Regions from separate parts of the Homo sapiens genome. Here all the other regions are linked to region 4. Evidence: promoter capture Hi-C in 16 types of primary human blood cells and fetal thymus (Javierre and others, 2016). All regions are on one chromosome and are shown on one strand. The core of a region is centred on a gene start or on the middle of the fragment in contact, and the rest is flanking DNA. Distances in the headings are between cores, read along the strand shown.

Region 1 (3,339 bases), core at 778-3,277, 450 kb before region 4:
AAAATAAGGAGAAAGCCCATTTTCTACTTCTCAAACTTTATAACAGAAAAATCCCTGGATTAAAATAATTGGAATGGCCAATTTGGTTTAGATGTTTGATATCATTGCCTACCCTGTATCTTTTATGCAAAATATTCAAACTCTGGGAATATTCTATCACTTATGATATGCCTGATCATATAACTATTTTAATAATTTGTCCCTAAATATGTTCAAATATGTTTAAATGTGAAACCTACAGTATAGTCTGCATTCAAACATCTATGCTCACACAAAATTATGTAGCTAATGAACAGCTTTCACTTTTTTCCTACTTGCAAATTTAGGATGACATTCAAACTTACATTCAGAAATATGTGGGCCTTGTGCTCTGACCGTGTAAATACTCCACTGAGTCTCAAATGAACTTTAATAACTTCCTTTTTATGCATTTACTTCTTCACCCAAACGAAAAGCTTATGTTGCTAGCCAATAATAACCAATTTAAAATTTTTCAGAGTTTATCTCAATACTCTGTGTAAGTGAAAGGACTAGAAGATGGGACAGTGGAGAATGGCAGTGGGCAGTTTTTTCTGTACGTGCAGATTGCACTGAAATCGCCAGATGTCTCTAATCTATTGCATTCCCTAGCTCCTTTCCAGAATTTCTCCAGAGCTCTCACATGATCTCTTCTAATTTGTGCTACTCACACTTACACAGCCTCTCCCATCACACTCACCACCCTTCCTTATCTCAACAATCCTTCTCCAGAGGGCTGATGATCAGTAAAATAAACACTATTATTAATAAAAATGTGTAAAGGGACTATTTAACTTTGAAAATTACCCATCATTTCTTATGCGTAAGTGGTCATAAAGTTTCCTTGTAGAGGGCTTCCCTAAGCCTGGAGTGAATGTGGTTAATTAGAGGAGGCCTCCTAGCTGTGCAGGATCATGCTGATTCCTTTAAGTAACCACAGTCATTACTATAAGACTATTTACTGAAAGCTGAGCTGGACAGCCATTGTACAATCTCATCTGGCAAACGTACAGAAATTGCACTCCAGATTACATATGAAGGCACTAATTACCCAAATGAAACTCCAGGGGCACCTTAGGTAGATACAGTAGAGTGAATTAAGGAAGGAAATAATTAGTCACAATTACAGAAACTAGCTCAACACAAAGTGAAAGAATGCATGCAGCTTATTTCCTGCAGAGAAAAGGGAGCTTTAGTAATAGTTTAAGAAATGCAAACGATAAACATGATTTCTAAAAATGAGTAAGAGAGGGACAAATATCTATTTTAAGTTATAAAAATGACTTTATTTTTCTGTTTCTATGTACTACATATCCAAATAACATTAAGACATTTTATCATGAATTTGCACTATGACAAATCAACTTTCAAGCATTTTCTTGACAGTTTTAGAGGTTTTGCCAGCTTTTGACATACATACAGACAGAGTAAACAAGGGGAAAAAAGAAAACTTAGTGAGCACGTAAGTCATGGAGTTTGAGCTCCAATAAAAATATTCATTAAAGAGGAAGAATAAGGTGGGGGGTGGAGAGAGGTATTCTGAAGAAAGAAACAAATTTACCTCACATTAAAAACCATGCATAGGAACTGTTATCAAACACAGCCAAGAAATTAAGTTTTCCAAATTTATATACCCCCCTTTCAAGGTATTCTGATAAAAAAATTCCTTTGGGCAGGGGGAGATCCTCCTCCACCTTTCAAAAATGAACTTAAGGATGCTACCTTTATCGGTGAGTGACTTTGGGAAGATGGAATGAGTGGATGCTTAGTTTGGATGGCTGGCAGGAAACTTTCAGGAGCATGTCACTGAGGCCTAAATCTTATAAAATCATGGCAGGTCTGGTGAAGACTGTCCAAGGTTTCTTGCAATGTTTCTAAGTAGAAAGAAAAGATGAGAAAATTTTCTTGATCTTTTAAGCAGTCTGCTAAGAACCAAGCTGTTTAACTAATTTGTTTTGCTAACTTGAGGTTAGTATGGAATGCTATCCTGAGTTACTAAGAGCTTAATAAAATTTGACTGTTTGAATCACATTATCACATTCAGAATTCATAGGATAATGTTAATTGAATCTTAATTTAGTCTCTAAAAACAAAGTGGAATTATATTCAAATTGACTTTATCTGTTCACTACTAAGTATGCTGACACTTTTCATAATGATGGATTAGGAATCTTTGCTGCTTAAATATATCATTTCTATTGATCAGGTATTTGGTATGAAATTAGATTAGAGGTAAAAGAAACTACTTAAAGAATGAACTTTTCTTATAATAGAAAATAAATAACAGCACAACCCTTCTTGGGGGAAGTGTTAATAAGAGATATAAAGATTTTGTTTTTTCTTTTTTAATATCAGAAATCCTGAAATAGCATACTGTAAGAATTTGGACTTCACTTAACCCAAGTAAATACAAGGAAGATTTTTGTCTAAGACCCTCTCCACAAAGACAACTTGAGAGCCAGGTAAATGGCTACATCTGAACAAAATATTCATAGCAGGTATGTTTTCCAGGTCTTTCTGAAAAAGCAGTACCTACTGCATACGATGCAATGTAAATTGTTGAAACTCCTTGAAACAGATGGGAAATACAATGGCAGGGGAAGGGGTGGGTGAAGAATAACTTACACTTGAAATAAGAGATTTCACTGTATCAAGAATCTTTATATTAAAAGAGCTGCATTAAAAACAAAAGCAAATCAAACCCAACACATAATGAGAAAATGCAATAATTTCTGAGGTGTGGTCTTCTTTGGTGAGTTCCACTGGGATATATTTATATGCTCTCTTTCAACCAGGCCATCACCAAACAATTGTTTGTTCTGTACTTAACAATTAAAACTGACAAAAAGACTTTTTCATCATGAGCTTCAAGCAGCCATAGGAGTTAAGAACACATATGGTGCTTTTATATTTACACAAGCAATCTCTCATGAGTCCTATAGAGATTGGGGAAATAGAGCTATAATAGTTATTCCTTTTTAGAAAGAGCACTTGTAAAATACGGAAAGTGGTTAGATAAATATCCCTCTATACAGAATTGATCAGTTAAAGAACTTTAGAAAAGTCAGCAGTTCATTACCTGAGTTTCCCAGTTAAGGGCTAACTAGTAATTAAATGTTTTTTTTACTTAAGAAAGTGAACAAAAACTTACAATATTAAAAGGGGCCAGTGTCAGAAAATTTAGACTCAAAATTAAGTTTCAGACTTTTGAAGGTTTATAAAATCTAATAGGAATATCTATGAATTTTCCTTCTTAGTTAAAACATGAAGTCACAGAACTATACTGACTTACCAGATGTTATCAAAACTTAGGTTGGGGGT
Region 2 (3,810 bases), core at 603-3,102, 390 kb before region 4:
GCAATCCCATTACTGGGTCTATGCCCAAAGGATTATAAATCATTCTACTATAAAGACACATGCACATGTATTTTTTTTTTTTTTTTTGAGACAGAGTCTCGCTCTGTCGCCCAGGCTGGAGTGCAGTGGCGCAATCTCGGCTCACTGCAAGCTCTGCCTCCCGGGTTCACACCATTCTCCTGCCTCAGCCTCCCGAGTAGCTAGGACTACAGGTGCTGGCCACCAAGCCCGGCTAATTTTTTGTATTTTTAGTAGAGGTGGGGTTTCACTGTGTTAGCCAGGATGGTCTCGATCTCCTGACCTCATGATCCGCCCGCCTCTGCCTCCCAAAGTGCTGGGATTACAGGCATGAGCCACCGCGTCCGGCCACATGTGTGTTTATTGCAGCACTCTTCACAATAGCAAAGACTTAGAACCAACCCAAATGCCCATCAATGATAGACTGGATAAAGAAAATGTGGCACATATACACCATGGAATACTATGTAGCCATAAAAAAGGCTGAGTTCATGTCCTTTGCAGGGACATGGATGAAGCTAGAAACCATAATTCTCAGCAAACTAACACAAGAACAGAAAACCAAACACTGCATGTTCTCACTCATAAGTGGGAGTTGAACAATGAGAACACATGGACACAGGGAGGGGAACATCACACACTGGGACCTGTCAGGGGATGGGAGGCTGGGGAAGGGATAGCATTAGGAGAAATACCCAATGTAGACGACGGGTTGATGGGCACAGCAAAGCACCATGGCACGTGTATACCTATGTAACAAACCTGCAGGTTCTGCACACGTATCCCAGAACTTAAAGTATAATAATTAAAAAAAAGAAACATAGGAAAATAATATCTACCCCATGGCGGGGGCTGAAAACACAATACTAAATTTGTGGTATTCAAGAGTCAGACAGTTAACCTTTTGCTATAACTAGCATTATTCAGGTCCCTTACTGGAGTTTAGGGCTCTATTTTAAGAGGAATATCAAAAAATATTACATAGACATAAGGGCAAAAAGTTTTACCTACAAAAATATATTCAGATTCCAACGATTTCTGACCCATCTTAGCTGCTACCCCGATCCAAGCCACCATCATCTCTCAATTAGATTATTGCAAGATTATTGCAATATCTTCCTGATTAGTCTCTCCACTTCTACCAATGACCCCTAGAGAGTCATCTCAAGTGAGCAACCAGAATGATCCTGGGTTTCTTCTCCATTCAAAATCCTCTAATAATTCTCCATCTCACTCTGTGAAAAAGCGAAAATCTTTACAAAAGTCCTAAAAGGCCCTCTGCAATCTCACTCCCACCCCACACCAGTCTCATAGCCCTCTCCTGCACACTCGCTTTGCTCCAGCCACACTGGGCCTTCTAGCACAAGCTTGTCCAATCTGTGGCCTGCAGACCACTTGTGGCCCAGGATGGCTTTGAATATGACCCAACAGAAATTTGCAAGCTTTCCTTTCCTAAAACATTATGAGATTTTGTGATTTTTTTTCTTTTAGCTCATCAGCTATCATTAATGTATTTTATGTGTGGCCCAAGACAATTCTTCTTCTTCAAGTGTGTCCCAGGGAGGCCAAAAGATCGGATGCCCCTGTTAGAGTGGTTTCTTGGCACCCCAGGTTCACTCCTGCTTTTGCATTTGCAACAGCTCTGTCTGGAATTCTCATCTTCCTGGTATCTGCAGGGCTCAATCCTTCACCTTCTTTAGGCCTTGCTGAAATTTACCCAGATTGCAACCACTTTTCACCATTTCTATCACTACTCCTCTGGTCCAAGCCTTCACCCTCCTCTTGTTTAGATAATACTGCAAAGCCAATTTAATATCACACCATATCTCAGCCATAGCACTCCCTTTCCTCCTGCCCTGCCTTATTTTTCTCCATAGCACTTAACACCTTTGAACATACTATATATATTTTAGCTAATTATGCATTTCCTTTTCTCTCTCCTCCCACTTGAATGCAAGTCCCAGGAGGGCAGAAATTTTTGCCCAATTTGCAAAATGTTTTGTCCCTAATGCCCAGAAGAGTGTCTGGCCCATATTTGTCATTCACCAGATATCTGTTAATTAGAAGAGTAAAGTGGTAGAAACAGAACCTATCAAGAAACACTATGGAGATACTACTTAGGCCAGAGCCTGGTGGCTAGGCTGGTTCTCTCCTTTCCAATCGGAGGCCTCTTCAGCAAACATGCTCCACCACATCATCACTCAGTCCAAGAAGCATCTAAGCTTGATCTCCCTCTTTGTATTCATTGGAGCTGGAGGTACTGGAGCAGCACTGTATCTCGTGTCTGGCATTGTTCAATCCAGATGTTAGTTGGGACAGAAAGAATAATCCAGAGCCCTGGAACAAACTGGCTCCCAATGATCAATACAAGTTCTACTCAGTAATTGTGGATTACAGCAAACTGAAGAAAGAAGGTCCAGATTTCTAACAAATGTTTCACTATAAAGCTGCTTTAGAATGAAGGTCTTCCAGAAGCCATCCACACAATTTTCCGCTTAACCAGGAAATACTTCTCCTCTAAATGCATGAAATCATGTTGATGTAATCTATTGGCGATTGCACTGATTAGTAAATAACTGAAACTTGGAAAACAAAACAAAACAAAAAGAAACACTATGTAAATTGAGACAAGCAAAGGAATACAAAAGGCTACCAGAGGAGTCCAGAGCCTGGATGTCCATGGATAGACTTCAGTGCCAAATACAAAATGTTTCAACTTTGCACATTACAGGCTTTAAACTGCTGCATGAGAGATTTAGGAAGAAACAACCCATTGTTAAATGACCAAATAAATGGTTACAGGACGAAATCTGAGGGTTGGTCATGCCAAGGAGATGTGAAAAATAGGACAGTGAATCATGTTTTGATGGTGAGCTTGCTGTCTGGAGGCAGGGTGCTGGATGAGAAAGGTTCTTTTGCTCCACTAGGAGCTTAAGATGAGTATTTCTCCAGGAGCCAACATTACTTACTGAAATGCAGAAAGTGCACATGTTTTCAAAGGGAAAACACATGGACTGGTATTAAATTAATAACTTCTGATTGGAAAACTTGTTGACAGAATTTGGCTGAGCTAGTCTCCTGAAATTTATTAGGGAACATCTGGGGGGAAATAAAACCTAGGATAGGGAGGAAGAGTGGCTCTCAACCTTGGCTGCACATTGGAATCATCTGGAGAGTTTTAAAAACACTGATGCCTGGGTGCAGTTAAATCAGAACCGCTGGGGTGGGGCCCAGGCATGAGGTTTTTGTTTTGTTTTGTTTTAGAGGTCCTCAAGTGATTCCAACATGTAGGTGAGGTTGAGACCTATTCTCCCCAAAACATCTGTTTCTTCTGTTTGTGATAAAAAGTACAGCTACGCACTAAGTGAGGTCTTAGGGAAAAACCAGAGCTTTATCTGGGCCTATCAAAGGCAGGGTTTACTCACTTAAAATGATTTCAGTACTCCATGAATTTATATTTTAATATCACATCTTTGGTTAATACTTACCTGGACACCACCCATTCCCAGATCACCACATCAGGACTGTCAGGCTTCCCCACACAGCCCACCCTCTCTCAAGAAGAGCACGCTGCTTGGATAATATTTGAAGGGGTCTCAGACCACAGCTGCAGTGTCCTATTTTGGAAGCCCGTGGCTGAGTATTTTCATAAGCAGTCCAAGATCAACACTTTCCTACTTGCTCTCTTCACCTCTTCACTCCCCTGGGTTATTTATATTCTCAACTATCTCCATTCCCACACTGTAAATTCTGTAAGGGCAGAGACCAGGTTGCTCATTTTGGCATGCCCAG
Region 3 (3,629 bases), core at 557-3,056, 330 kb after region 4:
TCCTGAGTGACTTCTTTGCCAATAATTTTACTCAGATCATCTCTATTTATTATACCAATAAACTAAGCAATAAATAACATTGCCATATGCCTTTTCATATTTTTTGATTCTTAACAAACAGGAAGCCTTGGCTCAAGCTTTCTGGATTGACATCAAGCGCATGGATGACCCAGAATGTTACTTTAATTCTTTGCCAAAAGAGTTAGAAGTAAAAAGAGATCGGATGGTACGTTTACTTGAAAGTGTTGGCCTAAAACCCATAGTTCCTGATGGAGGATACTTCATCATCGCTGATGTGTCTTTGCTAGGTTTGTAAAGGCTTTTATTATTTCAACTATACGGAAACTTATGTGTGAAATTATATCAGAATTATGGAGAAAAGATTGGTGTCAAAGCCACAGCAGCATTTTATCTGTGGAGAAGGATGGATTTTTGCAATGTCTACATTTTCTATAATTATCTTTACTTTTAGGCCTTTTACCTTAAATGTGACCATTGTTAAATGGTTATGGAGTCAGTGTTGTTCTAGTTAGTCTATTAAACATAGGATTTGCTATCACTCTCTTCTGGTGTGTAATTTTAAAACACAAGTGTGTGAAATAATATTATATACTCAGTGTTCATTTGAGTAAAATTGTAGTTTCCTTTTTACTTAACAAAATGTACTATTTCATTAGAAAAATATCTAGAAATTTTGAAGCTATCAGGGAATATTTGCCATTTTAGAATGTACTGAAATAAAATAAATGGGAGAATAACACTTATTGAGGGTCTACTTTGTGCCACGTACTCAAAACACCCTTTTGAAGAAAACATTAGCTCCATTTTTGCAGGTAAAAAGATTTAGAAAGTTTTAAATAGCTTCCCTGAAGTCACACAGCTAGATTCTAAATAGTTCTGTTTCCAAAAAGCATTGTTTTTTATATTACCTAAAGCTGTTATATGTAATTCTGACATGCCATACAAATCTAAAGTTAGAAGCATGATAATGTGTCATATATAACTTTTCTTTTAAAAAAATTAGTAATAGTAAACCTTGAAGCCTAATTTATCATGACAGAAATTACAGCCATTCTAAATATAGTTTTAAATGTTTTAAAATTTTATTACAATGAAGTTATATGCCAATGAACTTGAAAAACTGAAGTGTTTTATTTATACTAAATTGTATAAAGCTGGAAAGAGTAAAGGAAATTTTCAATTTTATAGCAAAACATTGATCATATTTTTTAACTTTACATCCTTCACATAGGAGTTTGTTTTGTTTTGTTTTGTTTTGTTTTGTTTTGTTTTGTTTTGTTTTGTTTGAGGCAGGGTCTGGCCCTGTCACCCAGGCTGGAGTGCAGTGGCGTGATCTCAGCTCACTGCAACCTCTGCCTCCTGGGCTCAAGCCATCCTGCCACCTGAGTCTCCTGAGTAGCTGGGACCACAGGCATGCACCACCACACCTAGCTAATTTTTAAATTTTTTTTAGAGACGAGGTTTTGCCACATTTCCCAGGCTGGTCATGAATTCCTGAGCTTAATGAGTGATCCACCTGCCTCAGCCTCCCAAAGTGCTGGGATTACAGGCATGAGCCACTGGCTGAGTTCTTTCTTACTATAAGCATTTGATGCTAGCAATTTTTACTTGTAATAGTTCATTATCATCTTAGCAAATTTCAGAAAAGTAAGGTGTTATGATTTTCCTATAATTTGGTCTTCAGGTCTGTCTCTCTGGAAAGTGGCTGTAAACTCTAGCTGTTCCCTGATGGGGCTCCAGGGGAGGTCCTGGATGTTTGCAGTGTGCCTTTCATGGGCTACTTGTTTATCCTGGCAGATGGCCTGATGTTAAGTGTCTGACCCATGACCAGACATCCCTGGAAACTGGTTTATACTGGCAGACATCCTTGTGGCTCTCATCTGACCTGTATCCAGTTTATTTCCACAGAGATAGCCACTCTCTAGGAGGAGGAGAGTTAGGTTCCGGTGTGTTGGTCAGTTGGGACACAGAAGAGGCAGCAGGCCTCCCGGGACCAATGGGAAGTGAGGAGTGGTCCAGGATATACACACTCAACCAGCAGGTGGGGAACAGAGAGAGAGTGGGATCTGTGGGCCAAAGCCTTTTTGGGGGCCCAAGGTGTTACCCAAGCAGGTTTCCTGCAGAGACTTCTAACAGATGGGTTTAGAGCGAGCAGGCACAAGCTCATGGTGTCAGGCTGTGACTGAGAGGTGGTCACTGTGGCATATCTAGGCAGTCCATGAGGAGGGTGGGGGTCAGTGGGCGAGTCAAGTAGGTTGTATCTAGCTGTACCACAGTGAGGTGCTCGCCAGGAGGTGGTTGTCTCAGGCAGATATCTGAATCAACTACATTGAGGAACTGTGAGGAGGAAGAGAAGTGGAAATTGTGTCAAGGGTGACTAAGCCCTGCTTCTGGTATAAGAAAGACCAACTTATATTCACAATGGATGCCAAGACAACATACAGTCATAAGAATTCATTACATGAGGTTTGGCTCAAACTGAAACACTCTCCTTCCTTTCACATTAGCTTATTTCTTCATTTGTTGTGAGAGAAGAGGCTTTGACAAGCAAAGATTCCTGCAGTGCTATTGCCATAGAGCTGTATTTAGCAGGCTCCCAAGCTCTATGCTTATATAGAACCTCTTAAGGTGTTCTAGACTCTGAGATTTGGGAAGTGCTTTTTCTATATTGAGTCTAAATGTGCAGTTCATTTTATGAAATGATAAAAAAAATTAGCACAGTTGTCATCACTTATATTTTTGCCTTTGAATCATAAATCCCCAAGATTTCCATATGAATTATTATTTTTTTAAAAGAACAACATTTGTACTTTATATGCTTCCAAAAGGAATGTGAGCCTTCTCATATTAAAAGTTTTCTATGCAGTAATATATAAATAGAAATGATTGTATCTAAATCAAAAATCAATGATACATGGCCAGTACAGTGACTCCTGCCTGTAATCCCAGCACTTTGGGAGGCCAAGGCGGGAGGATTGCTTGAGCCCGGGAGTTCAAGACCAGCCTGGGCAACATAGTGAGATCCTGTCTCTTAAATTAAAAAAAAAAAAAATCAGTTACACATAGGAGGGAAAGAAAGCAAATATTTCAGTCACCTAGGTTCACATAGTATTGTAATTAGCATTAACTTGAGACTAAACTTCCTGACAGTAAAGGCAAACAGAAAAATGAAATTAGTTGCGTAGTTTTTGAATAAAAAGAAACTTAGCTTTTTAGATAAGAACAATTCTTTCCTGGAACCAAACTTTTCCAGATATGAAACTCGATTTATCACATTGTGACATTAACTATCAAAAGAACAGTGATAAAACTCAGAATATTACATTAAGCTCCTAATTAGTTTCCATTTCTTTCCTCAGTCAATCCATTCTATATGCAATACTAATTTAGGTCTTAGATCTTGAACTAGTGTGGTGATAATAGGAGCAAAAAGGATTTTGGTTAGGAAAGCTTTTCTGATAATGAAAACAAGATTTTTTTTATGGTCTTCCTTCACTCGTGGAAAAATGTTAATGTCCACAAAACCTTCCTACATATAAAGAAATTTATGTTTTGTTTTACCTTTTCATCTGCTTCATTTGCAATGTGATAATTCTTCCATATACTAA
Region 4 (3,295 bases), core at 422-2,921:
TTGGGCAATTCCCTTTGTCATCTGGCTTAGTCACTGAATTTCCTTTTTGGTTTCTATTTCCTACAGAGAACTTTCAAAAATCCCCCTTTCTGTTATTCCATATTTTGTATTCAAATTGTCTCCTTTTTCGAGCAGGGAAAATGGGGTGGGAAGAACAAAAACCCCAGGACTGAGTGAAGAAAATAAATGAGAAATCACCACAGTGAAAGTAAAAGACGAGAGTTCGAACTCAGCAAGTTCTCATCGAAGCAGCTTTCTTTTTTCTTTTCTTTTCTTTTTTTTTTTTTTTTTGAGACAGAGTCTCGCTCTGTCACCCAGGCTGAAGTGCAGTGGTGCAGTCTCGGCTCACTGCAAGCTCCGCCTCCCAGGTTCAAGCCATTCTCCTGCCTCAGCCTCCCGAGTAGCTGGGACCACAGGCGCCCGCCACCATGCCCAGGTAATTTTTTGTATATTTTTAGTAGAGACGGGGTTTCATCGTGTTAGCCAGGATGGTCTAGATCTCCTGACCTCGTCATCCACCCGCCTCGGCCACCCAACATGCTGGGATTACAGGCGTGAGCCACCGTGCCCAGTCCCTCATGGAAGCAGTTTTCTTACTAGCTCTAAAATACCTCTTCTCCCGATTTTATAATCAAGGTAATGAGAGGTGACGGCGTGCTGGCAGCCCTTGCAGCCCTCCCTCGCTCTCGGTGCCTCCTCTGCCTGGGCACCCACTCTGGCGGCACTTGAGGAGCCCTTCAGCCCTCCGCTGCACTGTGGGAGCCCCTTCCTGGGCTGGCCGAGGCCGGAGCTGGCTCCCTCAGCTTGCTGGGAGGTGTGGAGGGAGAGGCAGGGGTGGGAACTGGGGCTGCGCCCGGTGCTTGAGGGCCAGCGCGAGTTCTGGGTGGGCTTGGGCTCTGAGGGACCTGCACTCGGAGCGGCCCCAGGCAGTGAGGGGCTTAGCACCTGGGCCAGCAGCTGCTGTGCTCCACTTCTTGCAGGGCCTTAGCTGCCTCCCGGTGGGGCAGGGCTGGGGACCTGCAGCCTGCCATGCCTGAGCCTCCTCCCCTCTCCCGCTCCCCACCTCACCCCGCCATGGGTTCCTGTGCTGCCTGAGCCTCCCCAACCTGTGCTGACCCCTGCTCCACAGCACCCTGTCCCATCCATGGCCCAAGGACCGAGGAGTGCCAGTGCATGGAGCAGGACTGGCAGGCAGCTCCACCTGCCGCCCGGTGCAAGATCCACTGGGTGAAGCCAGCTGGGCTCTTGAGTCTAGTGGGAACTTGGAGAATCTTTATGTCTAGCTAAGGGATTGTAAATACACCAATCAGCACTCTGTATCTATTTAATCTGGTGGGGACTTGGAGAATCTTTATGTCTAGCTAAGGGATTGTAAATGCACCAATCAGCACTCTGTATCTACCTCAAGGTTTGTAAATGCACCAATCAGCACTCTGTATCTAGCTCAAGGTTTGTAAATAGGCCAATCCACACTCTGTATCTAGCTAATCTAGTGGGGACATGAAGAACTTTTGTGTCCAGCTCAGGGATTGTAAACACACCAATCAGCACCCTGTCAAAACAGACCAATCAGCTCTCTGTAAAATGGACCAATCGGCTCTCTGTAAAATGGACCCATCAGCAGGATGTGGGTGGGGCCAGATAAGAGAAGTAGCCAGCAGTGGCAACCCACTGAGGTCACCCTCCAGGCTGTGGAACCTTTGTTCTTTCACTCTTTGCAATAAATCTTGCTGCTGCTCACTCTTTGGGTCCACACTGCCTTTATGAGCTGTAACACTCACTGGGAATGTCTGCAGCTTCACTCCTGAAGCCAGCGAGACCACGAACCCACCAGGAGGAACAAACAACTCCAGACGCGCAGCCTTAAGAGCTGTAACACTCACCGCGAAGGTCTGCAGCTTCACTCCTGAGCCAGCCAGACCACGAACCCACCAGAAGGAAGAAACTCCAAACACATCCGAACATCAGAAGGAGCAAACTCCTGACACGCCACCTTTAAGAACCGTGACACTCAACGCTAGGGTCCGCGGCTTCATTCTTGAAGTCAGTGAGACCAAGAACCCACCAATTCCGGACACGGTAAGACTGGGGCAAGAGGTGGAAGAGATTTGCAAGATTCATTTGGTTTTAGAAACATTCTACAAAGGATAGGATGCAGCTTATCCTGATGTGGTATATCAGACCTCAGTAAAGAATAAATTGTATTCTTATCAGACAGGCAGCAGAATTCATCAAGTACCAGCTGTGTCTGCCTCTTGCTGAATTAGACATCAATGTGTGTGGTGACTAAACTAAGAGTTTGAAATGCCTTCAAATTATTTTTCTTCCTTTGCAATTTTATGACTTATTCAGGATCATAATTTCCACTTAAGTTACCTTCGTCCTTCATAAAATCTGATTAAACTGACTCGAACTTCAGCATGAAAGTTTCAAAAACTATGATAGCTATTATTTTCATGAGAAAGAACAATGAATATGATGCAATGTAAGTAGCTTGCAAACATTAAGGACAAGAAAAAAATGTTGCCCAGAGAGAAGTTTCATGAAAACAGTGATGTATTTTTAGTCATAGTCTTGTACTTTGTTTGAAAGTAGATTTCTTCCTTTAGCAATAGCCCTGACTTAATTCATGTTGGTTTCTTGGCATCTACTCACTTAACTAACCCCTTTTGTGTTGGGTTCTGCTTCTACTACTCTATTGCCTTTACTATTATGAATCACCTAATTTAACAGTTGCCCAACTGGATCCCTCAATACTGTCTGGCAACTGTTCACTCGTTGAAATTCTCTCCTTTGAATTTCTTACCATGACACATACTTCAAGCATTTTGTACTAGTTTGATTTCCATTTATATCCTTAATAAGAGCCTTTTCCTTTTCCTTGAAATTCAAACCAGAAACTATGCAAAATAAGCAAAAGCAAGCAATAACAACTACATATACAAATGCAGGCGCAAAACCCAAACTAGAATCATATGGCTGAAAACAGATGTTTTCTTTCAGAAATCCTTCCACTACCACTTCTGAGCATTTTCTCTTAGTATTTTTTTTTGGGCATTTTCCTTCTTTGCACTTTTTAAAATCTCCTGCAGCTCGCTCACTCTCTTTCATAAGCCAGCAGTTATACTGATGTTAATAAATAGTTGTTTATTTACTTTTGCTTTTTTAGAAAACAAGCTGAAAGAATTGAGTGAAATGCCAGAGAGATACAGATAGCCAGTTGTAGGGCTGGGGTTGGAAATCAAGTCTAATTTAAGGCAAGGGCAAAATGTGCATTTTGTGTGTGTATTTTGAA
Region 5 (3,403 bases), core at 174-2,673, 360 kb before region 4:
ACTAAAGACTGTGTAATTACAAGTTAACCATGTACAGGTTGGTGATAGAAGCAGAAGTAGATATTTCTGGGCTATGCAGGGCTATGGTAAGGGATTTGGAATGAAATAGGTCTGGGCTTAAATCTTGTATCTCTAGCTATGAACTTCAGTTTCCTCATCAGTCTATTGGAATATAACTACCTTTTAGGGTTGTGGTGAGACTTAGAATATCTGTAACCCCTCTAGTGGGTTGTATGGTAACAGCAATTGTGTCACATTGTTGTTTTGTTGTTAGCTGTAAGAAAACTCAGGCTGGGCTGAGTTGTTCCTTGAAGGCGTAATTAATTAATTTTTTCTGAGACAGAGTCTCATGCTGTGTGATCTCGCTGACTGCAACTTCCGCCTTCCAGGTTCAAGCAATTCTCCTTGCCTCATCCTCCTGACTAGCTGGGATTACAGGTGCCCGCCACCACGCCCAGCTAATTTTTGTATTTATTTATTTTTTTTAGTAGAGATGGGTTTTCACCATGTTGGCCAGGCTGGTCTCAAACTCCTGACCTCAGGTGATCCACCCGCCTTGGCCTCCCAAAGTGCTGGGATTATAGGCATGAGCCACCACGCCTGGCCTGAAGGCATAATTTAAAAGTCACCTTCTCTATGAAGCCTCCACAGGTTCTAGGCAAGTATAACTCTTCCTTCCTTGTGTGACCACAGCACTTACCATGGCATGCTCTCATTTGTCTCTTTACATGCCTCTTCACTACAGAGTCTGGGAGCCTCTCCAGGGCAGGGCTGTATCTTGATTCACTTTTATGTCCATTATCAATACCCTGCACAGGACCTGATATTAAATATTGAAATAATGAGTTTTTAAGTGTTTCAGTTTCTTGTATTGGTTCTGACTTTCAGTATAACTCTTATTATACTACAGGCTCTAAAACCTGAACCCTTTAGCTCATAAATAATTCATACTAAATTTATGTATTATGTATATGTATCTGCTTAAACCTTGATGATGTCAATGCTGGGATTGTTCTTTCAGATCAACCTGCTATTCTTGTTTTGTTTTGCATTTGATTTCAGTTGATCCTACCTGGTAAGAGTGCAAGTAAAATCTACATTCTAAACCAAAACCACCAGCAGGATTTTACGCTGCATTCTCTATCCACCCTGTGCACATCTGCTCCCCATACCATTTCTGAGCTTTGTGGGAAGAGGCTGAGCTAAAAGAAAACGTTGTTGTTTTAAGTTTCAGTTGTTTAGACTGTTGCAACCATTAGCACTTTCTGAATTAATACCTGCAAGATAAATGCTACCTTTAGCAACAGTTTTGAAATCCTTGACTCTGTGCCATTAAAAATGCTAGACAGGGAAAAATAAAACCTTCCCTAGAAAATTCTTTTGCCCAGAAAGTTGCCTGAGAGGTAATGTCAAATGTGGACTTGATCCCAAAATGGCAGTTGAATTTGTACCAGAGGAGATGGTGGTCTATTGGGGCTAAAAATGATACCCCAAAATGAAGGAATAAAAAGCAGCCTCAGAAGCAAAGTCTCTGTCTAGCTTTCTCCTGCCCTCCTGTCTCTCACTCTCTTATTCTCCCTTGAAGCAAGCCATAGAAACTGGAATCCTTCTTCCCTGAGGTGGGTCATATAAACCAGAACCTTTTCCCCAAAACCAGCCTTAGAGCCTAAACATTTTACTCTAATCTTCTCCCTCCCTTCCCTTTCTCTTTCTTGCTAACTGCTGGCCATAAAGAAATTAAGACCCTCATTCCAGGGGGTCCTACCCCATACCTGGGAGGAAGGAATGTTATATCGAAAGGCCAAGAAGAAATCTGAACAGACAGGCCTTGCTGGATTTCCCCATTCCCCTTGCTGGATCATACCCCTTTTGTCCAATCATATTTCTACACAGCTTTCCATACTTCATTGAACCCAAGCATAAAAATGGGCCAAGAGAAGGTGGCTCATACCTATAACCCCAGCATTCTGGGAGGCCGAGGTGCAACATCACTTGGGCCCAGAAGTTACAGGTTACAGTGAGCTATGATCAGGACATTGCACTCCAGCCTGATCTACAGAGTGAGACCCTAAATCAAAAATAAAAATAATAATAAAGGAATAGTTGCCCCTATATCTTGGGGTCTTCATTCTGAAGGCTCCTGTGTCACACAAAACTACGATCAAATAAATTTGTTATGCTTTTCTCTTGTTAATTTGCCTTTGTTAGAGAGGTGTCAACTGTTATGATAGGAAGGAAAGGAATCACCCCTTTTTGCTCCCTACAGTACCAAGGACCTAAAAATAGGATTCTATAAAACTTTGAATCAGATTCTTCTAAAACAAACCTTATTTATTTTACCACCCCAAGACAGAATTGTTTGATCCCACTAACTTGTGAAATTTTCTTTGGAAATAGTAAAGAATAAACACTTATGAGGTACACATTATGTGCTAAATGCAGGTTGAATATCTGTTACCCAAATTCCTTGGGACCAGAAGTGTTCTGGATTTCAGATTTTGAATATTTGCACTATACTTACCAGTTGAGCATACCAAATTCAAAAGTCTAAAATGCTCCAATGAGAATTTCCTATAAGCCTTATGTCAGTGTTCAGAAAATTTGGAGCACCTCAGATTTGGGATGCTCAATGTGTGCTAGCTTTATATGCATTGTCTCATTTATTCACCATAGCTATCCATTACACAGGCAGTATTATTTTCTCATATTGACAGATGAGAAAACAGAGGCCCATTGTAATCCAGTAGCTAGCTGAAGGTCACATAATCAGTGAGTAGAAGAGTTGGGATTTGGGCCTAGGCAAGTCAATTTCAGGGTTCTCATGCTTACTCACTACTTAATCCTATAGGAAAGGAGTATTTATTTTTAAATGGAACCCATCAGTTATTTCAGTAAGGTTAATAATGTACTTTTTCAGTATTTCAAAATTGCATTGATTTGTGCTTTTTCCACTAGTGTACTCATATCCCATATGTGCCTTCATGAGCTGGTTTTACAGCTTACTCTTTAATTGAAAAGCACTTTACAACTGAAAGCAAACTTCTTAATCAAAGATCATAATGTGTCCGTAGCTCCGAGTTAAGGCAACATGAACTATAACCAGACAGAGAGTCTCATTCTTAGAATTATTGTTCAGATGGGTCGATAGATAAGTAACTTTCACATGAGAAATATTATTATATTATGATATAATAAGAAATATATATATATATTGGTCATTGTCTATGGTTCCTGGCTTACAGCTTCTAAAACTCTTGTAATTTCCTCAGTGATTAGAGCTATAGGATCATTTTTGATTATATTTGGGTTTTGTCTTTAGTTCCTGAAATAGCTCCAGATAAAGGTGAAAAAAGTGTCTTTTATTACTCATAAGATGTCTTCTTCAACCACACCTGGGTTTATG
Region 6 (3,443 bases), core at 20-2,519, 470 kb before region 4:
GCTTCAGGGATGAAAAGCACTCGTTTGATTACTGAGAGGATAGCTGGAGAAGTGAAGAATAATGTGATGTTCAGCTCAAACTCCTTGGGGGAATTCGGTTGTGAAAATGGAATTACCCAAGTTGGATTCCGCCCAGGATGCCAAGCTTAAGTTATTGGGTAAGTGCACATTAGAAAAATGAATTTTGGCAGCTGCCAAAATATTCTCTTTATGTGAAAGTAAGTGACCTTGGGTTTAGTTTCTGTTAACGGCTGGCTTTTTCTGGCAGAGGCAAGAGATGGATACTTTGCAATGGTTTTGCAATGACAGCAGCAGTACCAGGAAACTTGCGGGTTGTTACAGTGCATCCATTTCTCAGCATCCATTATAGTTAGGAATGTGATGGACCAAATGTGCTTTTTATTTTGCCAGTGTTTGGACTCTTCATTTGGAGAATAACCCATGATTGTAGCTGACTATATTCCAAGATTCATAAGCTTTGGCGCCTGAATCAGATACCTATGGAGGAAAAAGAAGCAATTTATTCATTCCTTTCTTTTTTTTCCTCTCCCATTTAACTGTCCCAAATGTCAGTGAATGAGTCAAATGTTCAATATTTTTCCACAGGGGCTGACTTTGGAGAAGCCAGTACAGTCCATCATACTGTTTTCTCAACTAGTTCATCGTGACATTCTGAGATTTTGAAAGGACACCTTTTCCGTGTCAAGCCGTCCCAGGGTGGCTAATATGCCTTTGCTCATTTTTGACAAGACAGAGGGAGGACAGGGTGACAACACAGCAGGATAAAAGGGGAGAGAGTGGCTGGATGCTGGCTGTTTATGCGTGGATGTTGAGAGTGGAAAATGCAGATGGAACTGAGGGTAAGATGCCAGGGAGTTGCAAGAGGGCTCCTTCTCTGAATAACCTCATATTCCAGAAAACTCATAAAATTGGAAAATAGTTTTAAACAGTGGAAGCCTTCTCTGAGGCATTTATATTCCCTGTTAATAAGGTCACAAATAATCACCTTTATTATCAATCCAAATAAAGTATATGATGCTGCTCATGGTAGGATTGGGAGAGAACCACCCCAAAATACCTCCCCAACTAGCCTAGTAAGGTGCCTACAGGTTCTACCCATACTCTTTCTTTGAGTAAAAGCACTAGCTTTCAAATATCCTGAGAAAATGCTGGTATTTTAACTGGGAGAAGAAGATCAATGGACAGGGACAGGGTTGGTTTATTTAGCTGTCTGCTAAGAGTGCAAGAGATTTGCGATGGACTGAATGTTTATGTCTCTCCCAAATTCATGTATTGAAATCCTAATCCCAAGGTGGAGTATTAGGAGGTGGGGCCGGTGCACAACAGCAAGTGCTCTCACAGTGGAGAGCTCTGGGAAGGCAAAAACATCCATGTGTTTGGAGGACCCAGCAAATGAGCCAGCAGATTCATGCCAACATAGACATGTGTGAGCTACTTAATGGTTGTGGCTTCACTACTTCCCTCCAACTTTCACACAATATCTCCTGTGGTCCACACTAATGGGAAACACGCAGCAAAGGGAATTCTGGGAAATGCAGTTCAGCCTCATCAAGTTGACACCCATCAAGCCACCATACCAGGTCAGTTGATTCCAGGATGTGTGGCCTTTCCATGACAACACATTGCCCCTCCTCAAATGGCTCTGTCCATTGCTTGCTCAATCTTTACACCCAAGAAAGGCATTCTTCCTAGGTCAGCTCAGTTTAAGTATTGATACCACAGGCCTGGAACAGGGCAAGGCACGGTGGAGAAGGATCAAGAGGTGAGCATCATCCTGAGGAGACCCTACAACAATTAAACTGCAGTTGGAAAGAAAAAGAGTCTCATCCTTGGGGTGAGCATAGTAAGGGTGAGGCACTTGGTCTTCCACATATCCCTGGCCCCCAGTACCACTTTCTCCCATAGCCCCAGGTACAGCTGTGCCGTCTCTGTACTGCACTAAAGTGTCCAGCCGAGGGGGAGGGAAGACAGTGGGCTGAATTATAGCCCTGCCTTTCTCCCCAGTCTCAGAGATGTTTCAGCCCAGAGGAATAAAAGCTTTTTTCCCAATCCATGGGCCTGAAGGAGCCACCTTTTTATAATTTGCACAAAGGCATTAGAGGTATAACTGTGCCCCTTGAATCATCTGCCTATAGCTGTCTGACATAATAAAAAATATATATTTGGTCTTTTACCCCAGTTCCTGACACATGGGTCTTAAAACCCTCATCATTTCCTGAATGATAGGAGTAAGAGGAGCACCATTTGTTATATTTGGTCTTATTCTCTGTTCCCTGGCACAAGAGCTTTTAAGAACCTTGGAATCTCCAGAGTGATGACTGTCTTTTTTATGCTAATGAGATGACTAGTACCTGGGGTCCCTAGCCAGCTTCAGGATGAGGGCTGGTCACCTGAAAGACCAAGCCTTGATGACAGGGTTAGAACTTTCAGCCATATCTCCCTTCCCCATTCCCCACCTCAACTTCCTGGGAGGGGAGAGGGGCTGGAGAGTGAGTCAATCACTAACAGCCAGTGATTGAACCAACCATATCTACACAATGAACCCCCCATAAAAACCCTAAACAACGGGGTTCAGAGAGCTCCTGGGTTGGTGGACACATTCACGTGTTGGGAGGGTGGTGCACCCCAACTCCATGGGGACAGAAGCTCCTGTACTTGGTACCCTTTTGGACCTCCCTCCAGGTACTGCATTGTCTGTGTGCTCATTTGTATTCCTTATACTCTCCTTTGTAATAAACTAGTAATGGTAGAATGTTTCTGAGTTCTGTGAGCCACTGCAGAAAATTATGAAAGCTTAGGGGATTGTGAGAGCCCCTGATCTGTAGGCAAGCCGGAAGTTATGGGTCACCTGGAGACCCACTACTTGCAATTGGCAAATGAAGTGGGGGCAGTCTTGTGGGACTGAGTCCTTAATCTGTGGGGCTTGTGTTAACTGTCAGCACAAGCTAACCAGTGTCATAATTGAAGTAAAGTGGACATCCAGCACCCAGTTGGTGTCCCCAGAGAATTGGAGAATTGCTCAGTATGACCCACACATTTGGCATCAGAAGTGTGAATAGAGAAAAGGGTTTGTTGTTGTTGTTTGTTTGTTTTTCATTTGAGAAAGCCAAGCCAGGACAGTTTGCCCAGACTTCAGAGACTGCCTTCAGGCTAGCTCAGCTGCTGGTCTACCTGGCTTAAGCCTGAGAGGACCTCCATGTGAGGAAAGTCGGAGCAGAGATGAAAAACCAAACAACTAGTTTTACACTGGTCCTCCCAAAGCATCAGGACAATGCCACCTTTGTCAGGGCTTTGAAAAGAAAATAAATAATTGTTAACAGGATCACATACTTGGTATTGTGCTGAGGATGTTATATGAATTATTCATTCAATAAGTGTTTATTGATGACCTACTATATGCCAGAAAATATTCCAGGTGCTGA
Region 7 (3,829 bases), core at 1,330-3,829, 490 kb before region 4:
AGAGACCTCTGTGGCAGACCCTTCAATTATCAGCAATGCCAAGGGTCCCTGTCTGTGGGGCCCCCACAGGCACAACTCGTATGGGCTCCAGAGACACCATTTCAGCTTGAGAATGTGTCCCCCAAGTTGCTAAAGTATGTGTCCTACCCTCAGAGTACCTGGTCTCTCCAGGGCTCTCATAGCCCCTTGTGAATATATGCCTAGGAGTGCATGCTCCTTGAGCATGAATATGAGAATTATAAAAAAAATTCTTCACCCAGAGCAGGTTCTCCTCAGACTTGTATTCTCGAATGTGTGTGTGAGAGAGGGAACTTCATTTCTTTCACATCCTAATAAATACAGAGAATGGTCACTTCTTAGAAACTGTTGTTCACAGCACTTCTGGGTTGTTGCTAGTCTTTATTCCCTTTCTTTTTGCTTGCCCCTTTAGGGCACAACTGTCCCAGTACAGGTTTTCTTTCTAATGCTGCTCTTCTTTTTTGTTTGTTTGTTTGAGATGGACTCTCACTCTGTTGCCCAGGCTGGAGTGCAGTGGTGCGATCTCAGCTCACTGCAAGCTCTGCCTCCTGGGTTCAAGCAATTCTCCTGCCTCAGCTTCCCAAGCAGCTGGGATTATAGGCGCGTACCACCACACCCAGCTAATTTTTGTATTATTAGTAGAGATGGGGTTTCACGATGTTGGCCAGGCTGGTCTCGAACTCCTGATCTCAAGTGATCTACCCGCCTCAGCCTCCTAAAGTGCTGGGATTACAGGCATGAGCCACCATGCCCAGCATGCTCTTCCTTTATAATTTGGTAGATTGGGCCATGGTGGGAGTTCTCAAACTTTAATAATAATAAAAAAAGTCTCTCAAGGAGTTTGTTTTAAATGCAGATTTCTCAGGTCCTGCCCAAATCTATGGAATCAGAATTTCTGGAGCAGTCCATGGGAATCGGCATTTTACCAATCCCTCTGCTACCTCCTCCTCTAAGATCCGAAGTCAGATGGTTCACAGAACACATATCATAAAACGTGGTGCTGATGGAGGCCTTGGGCCCTTGTCTGGCTTGCTCAGGCTGCTATAACAAAACACTGTAAACTGGATGACTTATAAACAACAGCAATTTAATTCTCACAGTTCTGGAGGCTGGAAGTCCAAGATTGGATTTGGTTTCTGGTGAGTGCTCACTTCCTGTTTCCTAGAACAGTTCTTTTCCCCTGCGTCCTCACTAAGTGAAAAGGGAAGATAAGCTCCCTTGGGCTCCTTTATAAGGGCACTGTTCTCACTCATGAGCCCTCCATTTCATGACCTAATCACCTCCCAAAGGTCCCACCTCTTAATACCATCACCTTGGGGTTTAGATCTCAACATATGAGTTTTGGAGAGACACAAACATTCAAACAAAAGCAGTCCTTTTCTTAATTTTGAGAGTTATTTATATATTTTAGACTCAAGACCTTTCTTAGAGATGTAATTTCTAAATATTTTCTTCCTGTCTGTAATTTGTCTTTTGATCCTTTGTCCAAGGTCTTTCACAGAAGTTTTTAATTTTGATGAGATCCAATTTATAAATTTTTCTTCTTATGGCTCATGCTTTTGGTGTCAAGTCTAAGAACTTTGCTTAGTCCTACACCCCAAAGATTTTTCTCTTATATAGTTGTATGTTTATGTTTTAGTCAATTATCCATTTTGAGTTAATTTTGGTATTGGTTTAGGTCCAATTGCTCCAGCACCATTTATTGAAAAGGCTGTTTCTCCTCTATTGCATTGCTTTTACTTCTTTGTCTAAAATTAATGGGAATTTTGAGTGGGTCTATATCTGTGTTCTCTATTCTGTTCCACTGATTGATTGCTTTGCCTGTTCCCTCTACCAATACCATACTGTTTGGATACAGCACTTATATATAGGGCCTTAACATTTGGAAGCGTGATTCTTCCCACTTTATTCTTGTTTTTAAAGTTTTTTTTTTTTTTTTTTTTTTTTTGTTTTTTGCAATTCTTGGGTCTTTCCCTTTCCATATAAATTTTAGAGTAAGCTTGTCTATGTCTATGAAAAAAACTTATTTAAATTTTGATAGTAATTACATTAACATGATCTGGTTACGGAGAAGAAACTGTGTGGAAAAGTTGGGCAGTCGTAGTTGCTATATGATTTGTTAATAAACTTTGATCCTTCTAGAATCCTAGAACCAGAGAGGACTCAACACTTTAAACTGGCTCCAGGGAACATTGTAGGTTCTTGGGGGTTCATAAACTGTCTTTAGGAAAACGGAGCTGTCTTAAGAGAAGTAAGTTGTACGTACTTCTCTGAGAACCGAACTTTCTCTCTTATGGCTGTGAGAACCAAATGTTTACTTAAGTAAAATTGATCTTCATTTCTACTTCAACAGGGAAGGAAGAGCTGAAGGACCCTGGGGATGATTGAACATAGCCTCTCACCAGCGCGCTCAGGAATTGTCCTGAGAGCAGCAGGAGGAGTGGTAATCCTGCAAGAGAAGGTGGCTTTGTTGAGAGCCTTTAAATTCAGCTTTATTACTCGCCAGTCTCCTTCCTTGTGTTCTGGCCATATTTCTTATCCATTAGGCAGCCAGCCCTTCACATGAGATCCTCCTGGTTTTGCATTCTTTTCTGCAATGCTGACACTTCCTTCTAGTTACACCCTTTGGCACTCTAATCTGTGGTCTTAGTTTTAGTCACTGATGAAGATATTTGGCACATTAACTCTTATTTCAGTTAACACCAGATGAAGTGAACTCAATTCCTCTTCTCACACAAAAGTTGGCCCCAAACTAGTTCAAAAATATATTTGAATTCTTTCTTGGCTAGTGTCGGTTATTTGTGTCCCTTTAGTGATCTGATTAATATTTGCTTTTGTGATGGTTGTCACATCAAGATAGCTGCAAGCATTGTTAAAGAGACATTTGATAAGAGGGACTACTTACCTGGAATTCACCCCCAGACCACCGAAATCTTAACTACTGATGACAGTTTTGTGTATCCTTTAAGGAGCTCTTGAACTCTGAATTCTATAGAGAAAATAAAAAGATTTGTTGAAAATGACTGACCCCATGTGGGTTGAGAACTATATCCAGTTAACTAAACTGTAAACAGCTAACTGAATCTGTTAACAGTTAAGTATGTTATCTATAAAATAAGCTTCAAGTAGCACTGTGTTGTAACTTCTTGGTGCCTCCAAATTAAGAGTTAAACCCTTAGATCTGGCTAAGGAAATGACTTTATCCTAGCCCAAAGGAGACCTTTTCCTCAACTCTTCCTCCATTATTTTTATTCTCTATTGTTTACTCATCGTCTCATATGTCCCCTGTCATGTTACATTGGAATCATTTCTTTTAGATGCAAACTGCAGCTGATGTGTTCATTGGGTCTATTGCAGCCCCCACCAAGTGTTCACTTCTGGTGAGAGGCATATCCAGGGCCTGAGTGCTGGAACCCAAAGATGACAAGGGTGGAGCATTGATGAGTTAACCTCGCAGCTGGAGGGTCTGTGCTGCATAGTCTCCCCTTGGGCCATGAGAGCACATGCTTGAGAATTACATAAGCCTGTAGCAGGGCAGGGCTCAGGGCTACGGAATTGATAACACCAGTGGGACTAAGGCATCCACCATCTGTTCTTTGTTATGTTCATGCCCATCACCAAAGTAAAAATCACAGTCATCCTTCTCTCCACCATTTCTGTCTCAATCAATCACTTCCTCCTAGGCTGGCCAAATTATCTTCTTCAACTTGCCAGAGGAAGAGGGAATGTCTTTTGGTAAGGCACAGAGGAGCCCTTGGTTTTCCAGTTACACTCCTGCTAATTGCAGAGATTTCTCAGTTCGTGGTAATCA

Evidence for each region. Contacts are between HindIII fragments. The CHiCAGO score rates a contact against its expected background, and 5 or more counts as called.
Region 1: a fragment that was not itself captured here is called in contact with the fragment with the promoter of GBP5 in region 4 in 3 of 17 cell types (total CD8 T cells, total CD4 T cells and naive CD8 T cells); the score reaches 7.9 in total CD8 T cells.
Region 2: a contact is called between a fragment that was not itself captured here and the fragment with the promoter of GBP5 in region 4, in 1 of 17 cell types (non-activated CD4 T cells). The highest score is 5.6, in non-activated CD4 T cells.
Region 3: a fragment that was not itself captured here is called in contact with the fragment with the promoter of GBP5 in region 4 in 1 of 17 cell types (naive CD4 T cells); the score reaches 5.4 in naive CD4 T cells.
Region 5: a contact is called between a fragment that was not itself captured here and the fragment with the promoter of GBP5 in region 4, in 1 of 17 cell types (non-activated CD4 T cells). The highest score is 5.2, in non-activated CD4 T cells.
Region 6: a fragment that was not itself captured here is called in contact with the fragment with the promoter of GBP5 in region 4 in 1 of 17 cell types (total CD8 T cells); the score reaches 5.1 in total CD8 T cells.
Region 7: a contact is called between a fragment that was not itself captured here and the fragment with the promoter of GBP5 in region 4, in 4 of 17 cell types (total CD8 T cells, naive CD8 T cells, non-activated CD4 T cells and 1 more). The highest score is 10.2, in total CD8 T cells.

The regions. Positions count from the first base shown.
Region 1 is chr1:89,717,477-89,720,815 of GRCh38, reverse strand. It overlaps LRRC8C (leucine rich repeat containing 8 VRAC subunit C), which reads right to left. Exons shown (of 3, transcript NM_032270.5): 3 at 1,283-3,339. Among named protein-coding and RNA genes, the nearest start is that of LRRC8C, 86 kb to the right of the region's middle. The HindIII fragment of the contact is 3,140 bases long and covers 458-3,339 here.
Region 2 is chr1:89,659,847-89,663,656 of GRCh38, reverse strand. The region is part of intron 1 of LRRC8C (leucine rich repeat containing 8 VRAC subunit C); the gene reads right to left. It also overlaps the pseudogene LOC100505788. Among named protein-coding and RNA genes, the nearest start is that of LRRC8C, 29 kb to the right of the region's middle. The HindIII fragment of the contact is 780 bases long and covers 1,463-2,242 here.
Region 3 is chr1:88,945,770-88,949,398 of GRCh38, reverse strand. KYAT3 (kynurenine aminotransferase 3) reads left to right here. Exons shown (of 14, transcript NM_001008661.3): 11 at 122-308. Among named protein-coding and RNA genes, the nearest start is that of KYAT3, 45 kb to the left of the region's middle. The HindIII fragment of the contact is 3,334 bases long and covers 140-3,473 here.
Region 4 is chr1:89,271,236-89,274,530 of GRCh38, reverse strand. GBP5 (guanylate binding protein 5) reads left to right here and starts at 1,671. Exons shown (of 12, transcript NM_052942.5): 1 at 1,671-2,079. It also overlaps the pseudogene LOC100421401. The HindIII fragment of the contact is 6,725 bases long and covers 1-3,295 here.
Region 5 is chr1:89,627,080-89,630,482 of GRCh38, reverse strand. All of the region lies in intron 2 of LRRC8C-DT (LRRC8C divergent transcript), which reads left to right. It also overlaps a transcript of LRRC8C not described here. Among named protein-coding and RNA genes, the nearest start is that of LRRC8C-DT, 4.1 kb to the left of the region's middle. The HindIII fragment of the contact is 4,677 bases long and covers 1-3,403 here.
Region 6 is chr1:89,740,781-89,744,223 of GRCh38, reverse strand. It overlaps LOC107985743 (a long non-coding RNA gene), which reads right to left and starts at 411. Exons shown (of 3, transcript XR_002958333.2): 1 at 228-411. The HindIII fragment of the contact is 1,582 bases long and covers 479-2,060 here.
Region 7 is chr1:89,758,035-89,761,863 of GRCh38, reverse strand. It overlaps LOC107985743 (a long non-coding RNA gene), which reads right to left. Exons shown (of 3, transcript XR_002958333.2): 3 at 2,926-3,007. Among named protein-coding and RNA genes, the nearest start is that of LRRC8D, 61 kb to the left of the region's middle. The HindIII fragment of the contact is 1,120 bases long and covers 2,020-3,139 here.